Regions from separate parts of the Homo sapiens genome. Here region 2 is linked to region 1. The links are contacts of gene promoters, found by promoter capture Hi-C in blood cells and fetal thymus (Javierre and others, 2016). All regions are on one chromosome and are shown on one strand. Each heading gives the region's core, a stretch centred on a gene start or on the middle of the fragment in contact. The rest is flanking DNA. Distances are from core to core; before and after follow the strand shown.

Evidence for each region. Contacts are between HindIII fragments. The CHiCAGO score rates a contact against its expected background, and 5 or more counts as called.
Region 2: a contact is called between a fragment that was not itself captured here and the fragment with the promoter of MRPL23-AS1 in region 1, in 1 of 17 cell types (endothelial precursors). The highest score is 5.4, in endothelial precursors.

The regions. Positions count from the first base shown.
Region 1 is chr11:1,985,995-1,992,795 of GRCh38, forward strand. It overlaps MRPL23-AS1 (MRPL23 antisense RNA 1), which reads right to left and starts at 3,926. Exons shown (of 4, transcript NR_024471.1): 1 at 3,832-3,926. It overlaps LINC01219 (long intergenic non-protein coding RNA 1219), which reads left to right and starts at 5,102. Exons shown (of 3, transcript NR_126400.1): 1 at 5,102-5,265; 2 at 5,944-6,286. It also overlaps a transcript of MRPL23 not described here. RefSeq lists enhancers at 896-5,815, 896-1,750, 1,745-5,815. The HindIII fragment of the contact is 17,986 bases long and covers 1-6,801 here.
Region 2 is chr11:1,841,902-1,849,561 of GRCh38, forward strand. LOC107984299 (a long non-coding RNA gene) reads left to right here and starts at 2,436. Exons shown (of 3, transcript XR_001748095.2): 1 at 2,436-2,472; 2 at 2,832-2,929; 3 at 4,663-5,846. RefSeq lists enhancers at 2,719-2,818, 7,581-7,660. The HindIII fragment of the contact is 1,331 bases long and covers 4,775-6,105 here.

The DNA of each region.
Region 1 (6,801 bases), core at 2,676-5,175:
GCTCCTCCTTGGACAGTTGCAGCACTCAAATGTTAAAACAATTTTTTAAAATAAATTTTTCTACTTTTTTTTTTTTTTGAGACAGGGTGTCACTCTCTTGCCCAGGCTGGAGTGCAGTGGTATGATCATGGCTTGCTGCAGCCTCAACCTCCTGGGCTCACGTGATCCTCTCACCTCAGTCTCCCACATAGCTGGGAATACAGGTGCGCGCCGCCGCACCTGGCTGATATTTGGTAGAGATGGGGTCTCACTATGTTGCCCAGGCTGGTCTCCAACTCCTGGACTCAAGCAATCTGCCCACCTTGGCCTTCTAAAATACTGAGATTACAGGTGTGAGCCACCACACCTGGCCCCAAATAAAACAATTTAAAAAGGAAAAAAGTGTGTGTGTGGCAGGAAGAGGAGGGTGAGGCCCGGAAGGAACTGAAGGAAACAAACTCAAGGAGAACAGCTGGTCCCCACGCCAGCGTCGACGCTCCAAGTCCTTCACCTCGGAGCCGAGCAGGGGCTGGGGGCACGGGGAGCTTGTGGCCTTTCTGGTGAAGTGACTCTTTTCTGGAACTTTCCAAACACCCTCCCCGCCCCCCGCCATGCCCCCCACCGCCTTTCCTTCCTTCTTTCTCACCCGCTTCCTTATTCCTTACTGTTCATCACAGACAAAGTTCCTGGGTAGGAGTGCGGGCAACTGCCGTTTGGGATCCATGGGGGCCTCCCGCCATTGGGCAGCCCCTCTCCCTGGCTTGTGGGGAGGCTCAGGTGAGCCCAGGTCTCCCTCTCCCACCGCATGGGAGTGCAGGATCCACAGGCTGATGGCTGTTTGCCAAAGGATGGGGACATTGGGGCACAGCACGGGGACACTTACTCAGCAGACAGCACCCTGACTGGCAAGATTGAAGAGCTCCCCTTCCTTGCTAAGACTCCCATGAAACACACAGGGGGCTGCTCAGGGGGTGCAGGCGGCAGGAGCGGGGACAGCTCAGAGGTGGGTGTGGCACAGGGTTCATGGCATAAGAGGGGTGGCCTCGGGAGCCAGGGCGGGGGCAGCCTGGAGCCAGCAGCCCTGAGGCCATGCACATCCACAGCATGCTGGCGGTGACAGCCCCGACCCGTGGCAGGGGAGCAGGCTCTGGGCTTGTCTGACCCGTGAGCACCCAGTGGCCTGGTGGCCTCAGCCCTCGTTGCCAGCCTCTTTCTAAGGTCAAGCCTGTGCTCTCCAGCCAGAGAAGGCATGCTGGGCTGGGCTGGGCTGGGGTGGGCAGGGCTGAGCTGGGCAGGGCAGGGCAGGGCTGGGCTGGGCAGGGCTGGGCAGGGCAGGGCAGGGCTGAGCTGGGTAGGGCAGGGATGAGCTGGGCTGGGCAGGGCTGGGAAGGTCAGGGCTGGGAAGGGCAGGGCAGGGCAGGGCAGGGCTGGGCTGGGCTGGGCTGGGCAGGGCAGGACAGGGCTGGGCTGGGTAGGGCAGGGATGAGCTGGGCTGGGCAGGGCTGGGAAGGGCAGGGCTGGGCTGGACTGGGCTGGACTGGGCAGGGCTGGGCAGGGCCGGGTGGAGTGGGCGATGGTGTCCATCCCGCTTAGTGGCTTCCTCTCACAGGAAGTCTGACCACCCTTCAATGCTGGGGGTCTAGGCTGGGCAGGTGGACGTGGGGGTCCATTTCTAGGCTCTAGACCCAAGGCCTTCCTGCTGCTCAGAGGTTCCTAGGCTCAGCAGAGAGGGCGGGGACAGAAGGTCCGAAATTCCATGTCCTTGGGATCCCATCTGCCCGTCCTTCCCGCCCAGCCCAGCCCAGTCTGTCTGCTCCCCAGCCTCCCACGCCCCCCATTGGCGTGCATGAGTGACATGCGTGTCCCGCACACCCTCGGTCCTGTTGTCCATCTCCCCCATCGCCCGCACACCCTCGGTCCTGTTGTCCATCTCCCCCATCGCCCGCACACCCTCGGTCCTGTTGTCCATCTCCCCCGTCGCCCGCCACCCACGCCGTCCCCACTGCCTTAGGCTGGCTGCCCCTTTGGACAGGGGCTTTGTCTACCCAAGTCACAGGACACGTGAAATTCAGCCTTAATTAAGTTGTTGGGTGATGGAGTCCCAGATGTGGGAGGCTCAGCCAGACCCTCTTGGGCTGCCCACCCGGAGAGCGACTGGGGCTGAGAGCCTCGCCTGGGGCCACTGTGCAGCTGCCGCCTCCCGCCTCCCACCTCCCGCAAAGGCCTGGGAGTGGGGCCCAAGGCAGCTGCAGCCCCACAGCCTGGCCTTGACCCTGGGCTGCCCCACAGCCCCCCTGCTGGCTCCGTGCCCACTGGGAAAACAAGCTCCTTATCTCGAATGCTTCCTGTGAACTGCAAACAGCCACGTGTCCCTTGGGAGCCACTCTTGATGAACGTGCCCTCTGTCCCACGACCCAGGGTGAGGCCGTTCACCCTCGGGCTGGGGGCCACCGGGACTGGAGGCTCTAGGCCTGGAATGAGGGGAGGGGACCTGCGGCAGGGCAGAGCCAGGCTGGAGACCACTGCATTGGGAGGGTGAGGAGGGAGAGGAGGGGGCAGGAGGGTTTGGGTCCAAGGCCTGGTTGCACAGGACAGCTGGGGATGGGGGAGAGGGGCACAGGCCAGAAAGGCTGGGGCTGCGGGGGCTAGCTAAGAGGCGAGGGTTCTGGGTGGCAGCAGCAGGCAGGGACCTTCCCGGCGGCCCCAGTGGCTCCCTCCCTCCCAGAACCCTTTCTCCTTCCTTGGGCCTAGAGCTTCCTCCACGTACTTTTCCCCGCCCCCGCCTTTCCCCTCTCTCTCACCCCGCTCAAACATGCTGTGACCTTTCCAGGGCCCCTGGACATCACTCACTGGGTGACAGAGGTTGACAGGCATGGAGCTAAGGAATGGGAGGCAGGGCGGGGGCGGCCAAGCCTCTCCAGCCGCTCCCTTCCCGCTTGCCCCACAGACGGGCCTCCCTGGATGGTCCTGGGTCAGCACACACGCTCCCAGGCGCTTCCTTCCCCAGGAGACAGTCCCCAGCCCCTGGCGGCCCAGATCCTCCTGCTCAGGCCGACGCATCCCACCTGGGCCCCAGAAACCTCTTTGGAAAGGGACAGTCACCTCAGAGTGGCAAGCACTTAAAAGAGACCCCCAACAGGCCGGTGTGTCGTGGTGGCAGGCAGGGTGTGTCTGGAGAGAAGGGGGACGTGTCCCCAGCTGGGCCTGGGGGCGGCTCCGTGGGAAAGTCCCACCTGGTCCCAGCCCCGGGTCTCCAGCCTTCAGACTCCTTGGGGGTCTCTGTGGCCTGGCAGAGGTCGGTGGCCCCTCAGTGGAGGTGAGGCCTCTCCTGGGTCACCACCGCACACCGGCCTGCTGGGAAGCTGGGGTTCTGGGCCACAGCCGGCCCTGGACGTGGAGGGGGGCATCAGGCCAGACCCCCCAGGGGCTCACAGGGCTCTGGGAGGCCCTGGCAACCCCAGGGTGCCCCCAAGCCCTCAGAAGGGTTGTCCCTACTTGGAGGGGACCACACAGCCAGGTGGGCAGGAACAGGCACCACGGCGGCCCTTCCCTGTCCACCCTCTCACCAGTGGCCCGCAGTGCAGTCCAGGAAGCACCGGACAGAGCACGGGGCAGGGAGGGGAGGCCCGTACTGGCTTCACAGAGGTCTGGGAGGGGCTAGCCCCTGTGCAGACAGACCCCTGAAGCCTAGAGCCGCCGGCCCAGCTGAGGTCCTTCCCAGGGGCCATTCTGGGACCCCTGACCCCATGCACCTGTGTCACAGGGCTATGAGCGCCCCCAGCCCCAGGACCTCCACGTTTCTCTCTAGAGGGAAGAGGAGGAGGACGGCAGGCCTGCTGGCCCCACACTTACTGGTTGGGGACGCTCAGAGGGGGCAGCCGCCATGCCGGGAAGTTAGGGTGGGCAGAGGAGCAGCGGTGCCAGGACCCCCAGGCCATGCTGCCACCCCGGACCCTGAACAGTGGGCTAGTGTGTGGGCCTGGGGAGTGAGGGCCCAGGCCGGGCTGGGTCTCGCTCCATAAACCCTGGCTGGCCGGAGCTGCAGACATCACTGTTGACACAGGGGTGATGTCACTGCCGGCCAATGGGGAGACCCTCGGGGGCCCTACGTGTGCCTCTCTGTGCTCCCAGGGCCCCCGCCACGCACGCCGCCTGCTCTGAATGCTGCCTGCATAAACCGGTTTTTCTAAATGTCTTTGGGGCCCTGCTTGCCCCCTGGGCCCCATCTCCTGCTCATCCCACCCCACCCTTGGGCCCAGCCTATGAGCCAAGCGGGAGTGGGGAGTGGCGGAGAGCCCTGGGCCTGCCCGCTCCCACAGGCATGTGGGCCCCAGAGCCCTGACCCCTGCACCTTCACCTCGCCAGCCTCTCTCCCATCTGCCACGACCCCAGCTGCCACCATGGCTCCCCACAGTCACCCCTGGGCCGTCTCTTCCTCCTGTCGGGAGAATGTTCCTCCTGGGAGAGCCTGAGGCCCCCTCTCTGCTCCTTGCTCCCCCGTCTGTCTCCCCTGCCCTGCCTTGCAGCCCTGCCCTGGGTCCATATGCTCAGAGCTGGCTACATATCCTGTGGCTGCCCATGACACATAGCTCCCCCAGGCAGGGCCGGACCCCGGGCACCTCTTTGCCTCCAGGGCCGGCCCCACTCTGTTGGAGGTCAGCCGGTTCCGAGGCCTCCAAGCCGCCTTTCTACTTCTCGATTCCAGGGCCTGGTCTCCACTCCCTCTGGGCTTTGGGGTGCATGCTGCAGTGCAGCCTCCCCGCGCCCCGGCCTCCATGCACCCTGCTCGTGCTGCCTCAGAGGCTTGGCATCTCCCCCATCTTCCAGCCAGGCAGCCAGTTTTCTGCAACGTGGGGCCCACGGTCAGCGTCCCCCACAGCCCTGCCAGCCCTTCTCCCCGGGGGTCCGCCCTGCACCCCCTTCCCAGGAGCTTGCTCTGCACCCACTGCTGGGCCTCCTGGCCTAGGGGCTTGGCACGTGCCTGTGAGCAGAGGCGCTGGGCAGGAGGAGGAGGAGGAGCCTGCAGTGCCTGGCGCCCGTGTGTGTTTACTGGTCCGGCCCCAGCCCCGCGCCGCTCCCCGCGGACCCGGCCTCCCGCCTGTGTCCAGCCAGGTGTTGGGTGATGGAGCGGGGCTCCCTAAGGACAAGGAGCACAGTGTCTGCTTTCTTTGCAAGCACAGTGCTGACAAGGAACAGAATACCCACAGCGACTGCTTCCAGGAAACGGCTGCAGGGCGGGCGGGAGCCTCTGCGAGAGCAGCCCCTTCCCAGCAAGCCGGCCTGCAGGTGGGCTTCCAGGAAGGGGCCCCCGCTGGCTTCCCTCAGCCCTGGAAGGGGGCCAACGGTGTCACCAGGAGCAGGCCAGGGAGCGGGGTAGAGGGGGGAGAAAGAGAAAGGAGAGGCGCGGAGGAGGGAAGGAGGGACGGGGCGCAGGCCTATGCTATGCCTAGTGTGGTTACCACAGCCTTAAGGGAGAGCAAGGCTGACCACAGCTCCTTCTCGAACCTTCCAATCCCCCTTTTGAGAAGTCACAAGATCTCCACTCAGGTCTTTGGCTCTCTGGGGCTTGTCAGGCATCACACACACACACACACACACACACACACACACACACACCCGTGCACACCCATCTGAAAACACAAGCAAGCTGGGCCACTGGGGGAGACCATTCCCTGAGACCCAGCCGGGGTCCAGGTTGAGGGGCTGACCTCCTGGCCCCCATGTTGGGAGGGCCGAGGAGGGCCCCCGCCCGGACCCACTGCGCCCTTGGCTCTGAGTGCTCAGATCCCACCCCCATCTCTAGAGAGGAGGAAATCATTTATCTTCCTGGGAGCTCGGGGTCGGGGAGAGGGGGCTGCCCTCCTTGAGTCCCCGACTGTTTTCTTTGAGACTTCCCAGGGTGCATTGTAGTCAGACCCAAAACATCGCTTTGTCCCTGTTGAAGGGACTTCACTTCCTTCGTAGAGTTGGGATTTTCTGTCTCCATTCGGTGGTATACCAAGTGCCTGCCTCCCACACCCAGCTGCCCCTAATCCCTGCCTGAAAACGTGCTCCTGGGTCACGGAATTCATGCTGAGACACAGCCACACACAGCCAGGCTCAGGGGTCCACCCTCCAGGGAACACCACCCCGCTACAGGGCCACGATCACACACACACCCCGCGGAGCATCTCCGGGCCGGACAGGACCCACGCCCTCCACAGCCCGGAAAGGCGGGTTAACTGGTCAGCATGCAGAGACCCACCAAGTGGAGACCCCGCTCCCAGGCACAGACGCACAGCTGTGGATGCACGTCCTCGGTGACAAGGTAGCTGAGGTCGCGTGCCCCGGGTGTGTACGGCCCACAGAGCCACAGGGGACTCGCCAGGAGATGCGTGCACCGAGGGTCCAGCGTGGCCACAGCAGCAGCACGCGCCTCAAGTCCTCTTCTCTAACTGGATGACTTGGTCTTCACTCAACCTAAACGTGCCGCAGAAACTTGGGTGGGTGGAGGGTCTGGGTGTGAAGACCTCGGTGCCTAACAGGGTCTGGGACGTGGCCAGAAGCCAGGGCACCCTCAGGGTCTCCCTGAACGGTGGAAGTTCCTCCCTCCCCAGATTTCCTGGCACCTTTGCAGGCAGCCACAACCCTCACCCCGGCCCCGCCACCCCCATGTTGGGGTTTGGGAGTGAAATTCCAGCCCGTTTGCTTCTCCGCACTGAAGTCAGTGCAGGGGCGTTTTCAAAGTGCCTTTGGGTGTTGGGGTGCCTGGAGCCTGTCTAACAACCCTCTCTAAGCCCCTTTTCTAAAAAGCAGGAAATCGGGTTGGGCCAAAGATAAACA
Region 2 (7,660 bases), core at 4,190-6,689, 140 kb before region 1:
GCCCTGATAGTGCCCCAGGCGTTCCTGGGGCTCGGCCTGGGCACATCCAACATGCAGGGCTGGGGATGGAGGCTGTGGGACCGAGCCAGGTCTGGGTGGGAGTTCCTGAGATAAGTGGGTCTCACATTTGCACAGCCACGCAAAGGCCCTCCCGGGGCTCCAGAGAGATCCACACATGTGACACACGTGTGGCCCCCGCAGTGCTGGGGGCAGCCCCCTATGCCTCCCAAGCTGCCCCTCCTCAGGGAGCTCATCTGAGGCAGGAAGCCAAGGGCCACATTAGACCCCAGGCTGCTGTCCACGCGTGCCCACCCCCAGATCCTCCTGCTCATCCCCCTCCCACATCACTTTGGGACAGACCCCCAGCCCCGGGGCCTCCCTGCTTTTCCTATCTGCCCCCTGCCCTGAGCACTGAGGCTGGGCACGGGGAGCGTGGAGGGGCGAGCCTGCACGGTGGGCCATGACCAGGCCAAATTGGCAGTCTCCGGGCTGGGGACCAGCATGGTGCTGGGGGTTGGCCAGCCTGGTCTCTGGTCCTTACTGCCACCCTGAAAGGCAGGCTGTGTCACTCCTCACCATGCCAGGGGACCAAGAGACCTGTGCCCATCAGGCAGGGGCTAGGCCTGGCCCTGACCTGGCTCCAGTGTGGCTCCCAAGTCTCGTTTCCACTCAGCCCCAAGACCCAGCCCCATCTGGCCACCAAGGACAAGGCAGCTGACAGGTTCTGACAAGGCCGGTGACAGCAAGGCCACGTTATCAGCCCTGCTCTTTGAAGGCTGACAGAGCAGGCACGCCAAGGTCCCTGTGCTCAGATCTGCGCTGGGGAGGCTGCCAGCCTGCGCTGTGCCCTTGCCCCCGGGAGGTCCCATCGATTGATCTGCCGGAGGTGGACGTGCAGCGGCAGTTCCGCCTCGGGCTGCCTTGAGGGACTGACGTCAGTGGGCTCCCGGGACGGCCTTGGCTGTGTGCAGTCCCCTGCTTCCCGGGTACCCTACAGCCCTGGCACTCAGCTCTGACCTTTTCTGTAGCTGGAGCCCCACGCCAGTCCGAACCCCCCACCCGGGCCTTCTCCTTTAGCCTTCTGTAGGGGAAGGCACCGAGCAGGGCAGCTTGGGGCCAAGGGGGCACTGCCTGGTGGGTGCAGCTGTGGCAGAGGTGCATGGCACCCCATGCCAGAATGATGGGACCAGGCAAGGCCCAGGGTGTAGGAGGCCATGAGGCACAGAAGTGAGGCCCGAGACCTGGCCTGTCGGGGGGAAGCTGCCCAAGCCCAAGCCTCAGCTGAGACCTGAGGGAGGACAAGTGTGGAGGCAGAGGGTGCTGCAGGCTGGAGCACGTCCCATGCAGAGCCAGGCAGGCAACAGGCAGAGCGAGGGACAGGCGGCGGTGGGGCCTGGCCATGGACCCCTTGCAGGGGACATGGCACCTTTCCAGAGCCTGTGCCTACTGGGAAAGGGGGCGGGACCCAATCCCACAGGGCGTCAGGGGGGTGTGGCAGAGGAGTTGGGGCAGGCGCATCACACCTGGCTGCCAACCACAAGATTCAACTTGGCCGGGGCAGACACGCTGTGTGGGAAAATTATCTTTTTTATTTCAAAGCAAGGAAATGTTGAACACAAACACGAAATTCCAAAGAGTGACCCTCTGGGGTGAGTGGGGTGGGGGCAGAGCAGGGGCAGAATGGAGACAGGACCCCTACGCTGATGCAGGTTTGGGGGATGTTTTAATTCTTGGGCTGGATAGTAGATGCACGGGTGTTTGTTAAATTTCCAATAGATGAGTGAATGAGTAAATGAAGGAGTAAGTGAGAGGCCTGCGGAAAGCAAACCAGCAAATATCAAACCGGCGCCCCTCTGAGCCCGGCTCCGTCCCTCTCGGGTGATTCTGGTGTCCCTGCTGGAAGTGAGGCCTGCAGCCAGTACCCCATGGGGCTGTCCCCCAGCTCTGCATTCTAGAAAGGCCTCAGCAGGGTGGAGCACAGCGGAAGTCACCGCTGGGTTGGGGGGTGAGGAATGGAGACGTGGAAGGGGCCGGGTCCCCAGGACTTGTTGGCTGAGGGACATGAGGAAGGCAGGCACCTTGCTGGGGGCACGGGTGGGCAGAGACTGTTCTCCAGGGCAGGAGCCGTGAGAAAGTGGCCTTGGGAGGAGGTGAGGCACTCACTTTGGGGCTGCTGGGTTTGGGGGCCCTGTGGAAATTCCGAGGGGAGACCTGGCCCAGGCAGCTGGAGCAGGGGCTGGGCTGGAGATGTGGATGTGGGTGTCCTGGGTGGTGAGCCGATGGGCAGAGGTGCCTAAGGCCAGGGCGAGAGGAGACGAGGGGGAGGGTAGGGACAGCCAGGGCAGCCGGGGCAGGCACCATGAGCCCCAGGGGAGTCCCGGAAGAGGAGGGGGACAGGCCCAGGGCAGGGGTTGTGGGCAGCCCTGTGCGTGGCTCTGGAGGTCGGGGAGGACATGGCCTCTGAAGTCCCAGGTAACCCGTGCTGGGCTGTGGCCAGGAAGGGGTTGGGGAAGACTGGGCACAGCGGGCCAAGGAGGGAGGGGTGGGAGGAAGTGCACGGGGCACCCCTGGAAGTTGCGGCTGCTGGAGACAGAAGGCAGGGGTTCCTCGGGGGAGGCAGAGGTGGGTGCTTCTGCACACGCGGGTGTTTCCTGCTCTGCCGCTGAGCCACTGACATGCAGACACCCCAGTGTCCAGGAGCAAACCGGGCCCCAGGCTCTGCTCCCTAAAACCGTCCTCCCCTGAAGGACCCAGGGCTCCTCGGAAGAGAGGTTGACTGCAGGGTGGGGCAGGAAACGTGCAGGAAGAGCCTGACATGTCCTTTCTGCTAGGAGGCCGTGGTGACGCAGAGGGCCTGCCCTGTGCCCCCGCTGATGGGAGCGGCCATCAGGACACAGACCGGCAGACAAGATAACAAGCAGTGTCCGCGGTAAATGTGCTCAAGTTCATAGTTACACAAAACAACATCTGCATTCCAAGGAAACAGACCTTAAAATCTTCAGGAGGAAAGGAGGGAGACAGAGAGACAGAGAGACAGAGGCAGAGAGACAGAGACAGAGACAAACAGAGACAGAGAGACACAGAGACAGAGACACAGAGACAGAGACAGAGAGACAGAGACAGAGACACAGAGACAGAGACACAGAGAGACATGGAGACAGAGACAGACAGAGGGACACAGAGACAGAGACAGAGAGACACACAGAGAAAGACAGAGAGATGGAGAGACACAGAAACACATAGAGAGAAACACAAAGAGAGACAAAGAGGCAGAGAGAGGGCAAGAGACAGAGGGACACAGAGACACAGAGGCAGAGAGGCAGAGAGACAGAGACAGAGGCAGAGAGAGAGACAGAGACAGAGAGACAAGAGACATAAAGACAGACACAGAGGCACAGAGGCAGAGAGGCAGAGGCAGAGACAGAGAAGCAGAGAGACAAAGGCACAGAGGCAGAGAGACACAGACAGAGGCAGAGACAGAGAAGCAGAGAGACAAAGACACAGAGGCAGAGAGACACGGACAGAAGCAGAGAGAAAGAGACAGAGGCTCAGAGAAACAGAGAGGCTGAGAGGCGGAGAGGCAGGGGTCGAATGGCAAAGTGGACATGTGCCCTGGGTGAGGGGGGTACAGAGGCACCTTGTCAAATTCTTATTCTTGAAACTTCTCTGTGGGTTTGAAATGACTTCCCCCAAAGCTAAACTTTTCTTTGAACGTTAAAGCAATACAATTCGTAAGCGACAACAAAAACAGATGACATGAAAAATACCACAAGTTAACAGAGAGGACCTCACAGGGCTCAGGTGTGGGCAGAAAGGTGCCCCAGAGGGTGTGGGGGACTTCGGGGTGGTGGAGGAGGCTGAGGACTGTGTGTGTGCCCCTGGCTGAGGGCCGAGGGCGGGGCTGGGTGCCAGGCCCCCGGGGACACCTTGGTTAGGGTTAGGGTTAGGGTTAGGGCCAGGGATCCAAGGCTGGAAAGTTGCCTTTCAGGGACTGCAGGAGGGAGGCCCGGTGCCCTGGCCATGCTGGGCGCTGGGTGGAGCTAGGATGAGGCAGGTCACGGGGCTTCATTCTCTCCGCAGGGCTGGACTCAGAGGGGGCTTCCCCCTGACCTTCACCCCCTCACGCACTCGATCAAGGGGAAGCCAGGAGTGGGGTCCCAGAGGGGGACACAGAGTTCCCCCATGAATGTCCACCTGCTGGACCCCCTGTGTGGTCCTCAGGGGTTCCCTGGGCCTCCACCGAGGGGCCCCCGGATCAGGGCTGGGCTTCACCCTCTCTCTCCAGCTGCACCTCACCCCTGACCTGTGCAGCCCTGTGTCCTTTTTGTTCCCCTGGCACCGGCTGTGCCTGGGCCCAGACCCACCTTTGCAGGCCGGTGCCTGGCTCCAGCCATCCTTGGAAAGCTGAGTCCGGCGCTTGCCAGGGCCTCACCACCCCCACTCCTCCGGCTCCGGCTCTCCCCAGACAGCCCTGGAGCCCAGGGTTAGAGCTGCCTCTGTGGCTCAGCCCCCACTCCACCCCAGTGGGCTGCCCAGCCTTAGTTTACCCAGATGTACAATGAACATGGAGATGAGAGCGCCTGCCTCACTGGACCACCAGGTAGGCAGGGACCCAGCTGGCACCTCCTGCCTCCCTAAACTCCTCTCCTATGTGCCCCCCAGAGTCAGCCCGACTCTCCCCCAGCCCCAGCAAGGCCTGGCTCGGCGCCCTGGACCACCCAGCTGCTGAATATCACACCAGGACCACCAAGCCTGCCTCTGCCCCAGGCCTGGAAGCTTCTCCCCACTCTCCCTGTGGCCATCTCCTTCACACCCTTCAGTTCCAGCATGGTCACCTCCTCCGTGAAGCCCTCCGTGAGTCCCCCAGCCATCTCTGTGACTTCTCCTGGTTATTTTCCAGAATGACCATGGACTTGTTTTTTCATTTGTTCACTGTCCGTCTCTTCCTCTGGGAGGGAAAATCCACGAAGTCAGGGACCTGGAGTTATTTGCAGCTGTGTCAGTGCTGCTGGGGCGAGGCATACACCTGTGACGGGACCTCAGGACGGGGACACGGGTCTGCATGAGGATTGTCTAACAGTCCCTACAAGACGCTGGGGCCACCATGTACACTGGAGTCCTCTGGCAGCCAGTGTTCCCCGTTGTGCGGGGCTGGCCGTGACCACGCTGGAAACCCCCCGATCCCCTTGTTGCTCCTGCCCTCCTGCAAGCACCTCCGCCGCCTCGACAAGCACAGCCTGGCCCCAGGGCCTCTCCCTCCCCTGGCCCCAGTCACCCCTACCTCCTCACCACCCCCTGTCATCTCCCATTGCTCCCCCTCCTTGCCAAGCTGCTCCTGACTCCCTGTCCCCTCCTCGAGCCATCGGGAAGGCCTGCGTCCTGGCAGGCTCCAGTCTCTGCGGCTGCCCCTCCGGCAGGCCGCCGAGAATCAGCGCGGCATTGGGCCAGGCACGGTTTCCACGAGCTTCCTCCTTCTGATCCTCCCCTCCGCCCCCCCCACCAAGCTCCCCAAAATCTCTCACTCACACCCCAAATCACCTGGGCCCCCCACCTCAAACCAGAGGCCATCGGGGCAGAACCCAGCAATTGTCACCGCCCTCTCACGAAGCGTCCCGTGCCCCCCGGAGCACATGTCCACAGCGAGGCCCTTCACGGCTCTCAGATCAGCTCCCCGCCTGCAGGTCCCAGCCGGCCCTGCTGTCGCTGCAGGTTGAGCTTCTCATGAGTGAAGGCCCCGGTCACTCTGACGCCGCCAAATAGTGGAGACAACACCAAGCTCTAAAGATTTTCAAAGGGAGAGAGACAAAAAAAAATGAAGGCCAGGTGTGGTGGCTCACACCTTTAATCCCAGCACTTTGGGAGGCTGCGTGGGGAGCCTCGAGCTCAGGAGTTCGGGACCAGCCTGGGCAACAAAGTGTCTCTACAAAACAATATGAAAATTAACCGGGTGTGGTGGTGTATGTCTGTGGTCCCAGCTAGGGAGGTAGAGCTAGGCTGAGGCAAGAGGACTGCTTGAGCCCGGGAGGCAGAGGTTGCAGTCAGCCCAGATCACGCCTCTGCACTCCATCCTGGGCAGCAGAGCAAGACTCCATCTCAAAAAATAAAAGCTTTGAGAATTTAAAGAAAGAAAAAAAGAAGAAGAAGGCCAGGCTGATGACTCACGCCTGTAATCTCAGGATTTGGGAAGACCAAGGTGGGCGGATCACTTGAGGCCAGGAGTTTGAGACCAGCCTGGGCAACATAGCAAAACCCTATCTCTACAAATTAAAAAAAAAAAATAAAGTAAAAACTAAAAGCAAACAAAATAAATAGCCAAGCTCTCCGACCCAAGGCCTTTTGTGCCGACCGACGCCCATCTTCTCTGACCTGGCCCATGTCTCTTTGCGCCTGCTGGAGAGCTTCTTCCACTCTCAGCTGGCCCTGAACCCTGGGCTCCCCCAGTACTGCCTCCCCACCCCGCCTGGCCTGTCCGCTCTGCTAGGGGCAGCTGTCTGGTCACTGCCCTCTCCTGGCATCCCTCCGATCCACCCGGCCCCCTCGAAGCCTTCCCTGCCCCTTTCCTGTCTGTCTCTGTCCCCGTTGAGAGCTTCTCTTCCTCACTCTCTTCACTCCTGGGCCAGATTCCCAAGCTCACCAGTGGCCACGGCCAGTGGAAGGAAAGGGGCCGAGTGACCCCAGCTCGCGTGCAGGGAGAGGGCACAGCCCCCAGCTTTGCTCCCCACAGCAAACCCCTCCAGCACCTGCGTGTGCCCACAGAGTGATTTGCCAGGGAGGGGCGCTGCGGGATGGCCTGTACTGCGGGACGTCCTTTCCAGCCCATGGTGCCAGCACACAGCATCTCCTGCCCAGGCCTCTCCCTGCTCGGCTGGGACTTCTACACGCACCTCCAGCCTGCTACACAGGTCCCAACCCCCGGCTTCTCCCCTCAAATCCAGGTCTGCACCTCTCAGACATCTGCCTTGTGGCCTCTGCACCTGGAGTGTCCCTGTGTCCTGCCCGCCTGGCACAGAGCTCCTCCTGGCTCACCCCTCAAGGCTTCCCTGCTTGGCTCCATCCCCCGGAATCTGATGCCCTCAGCTGGCTCCATCCCAGAATCCAAACTAACTCATCACCTGATGCAGCCGCTTGCTGGTCCCCGTGCTGCTCGCTGGACCCTGCACCAGATTTGGAGACAGGACAACGGAGGGGCCGGGGTCTGCCCTCCACACACCTCCCTTAGAGTTTCAGGCACTGAGGGAAGAAATGATTCTGCATCTGATTCTTGGGTAGACTCTTAGCTCTTCAGAGGAAGGCTCTGTTCCTGTTTAACCTCCCACCCAGCAAGGCCCACACCGTTCTCAAACACGCATGCACTGCCCGGGTGCAGTGGTTCATGCTTGTACTCCCAGCACTATGGGAGGCTGAGACAGGAGGATGGTTTGAGCCCAGGAGTTCAAGACCAGCCTGGGAAACATGGTGAGACCCCATCTGTACACACAAAAAATTTTTTAATTAGCTGGGCGTGGTGGTATGTACCTGTGATCCCAGTTATTTGGGAGGCTGAGGCGGGAGGATCACTTGAGCCGAGGAGGTAGAGGCTGCAGTAAGCCCTGGTTGCACCACTGCACTCCAGCCTGGGTGACAGAGCAAGACCCTGTCACACACGCTCGTGCGCACACAC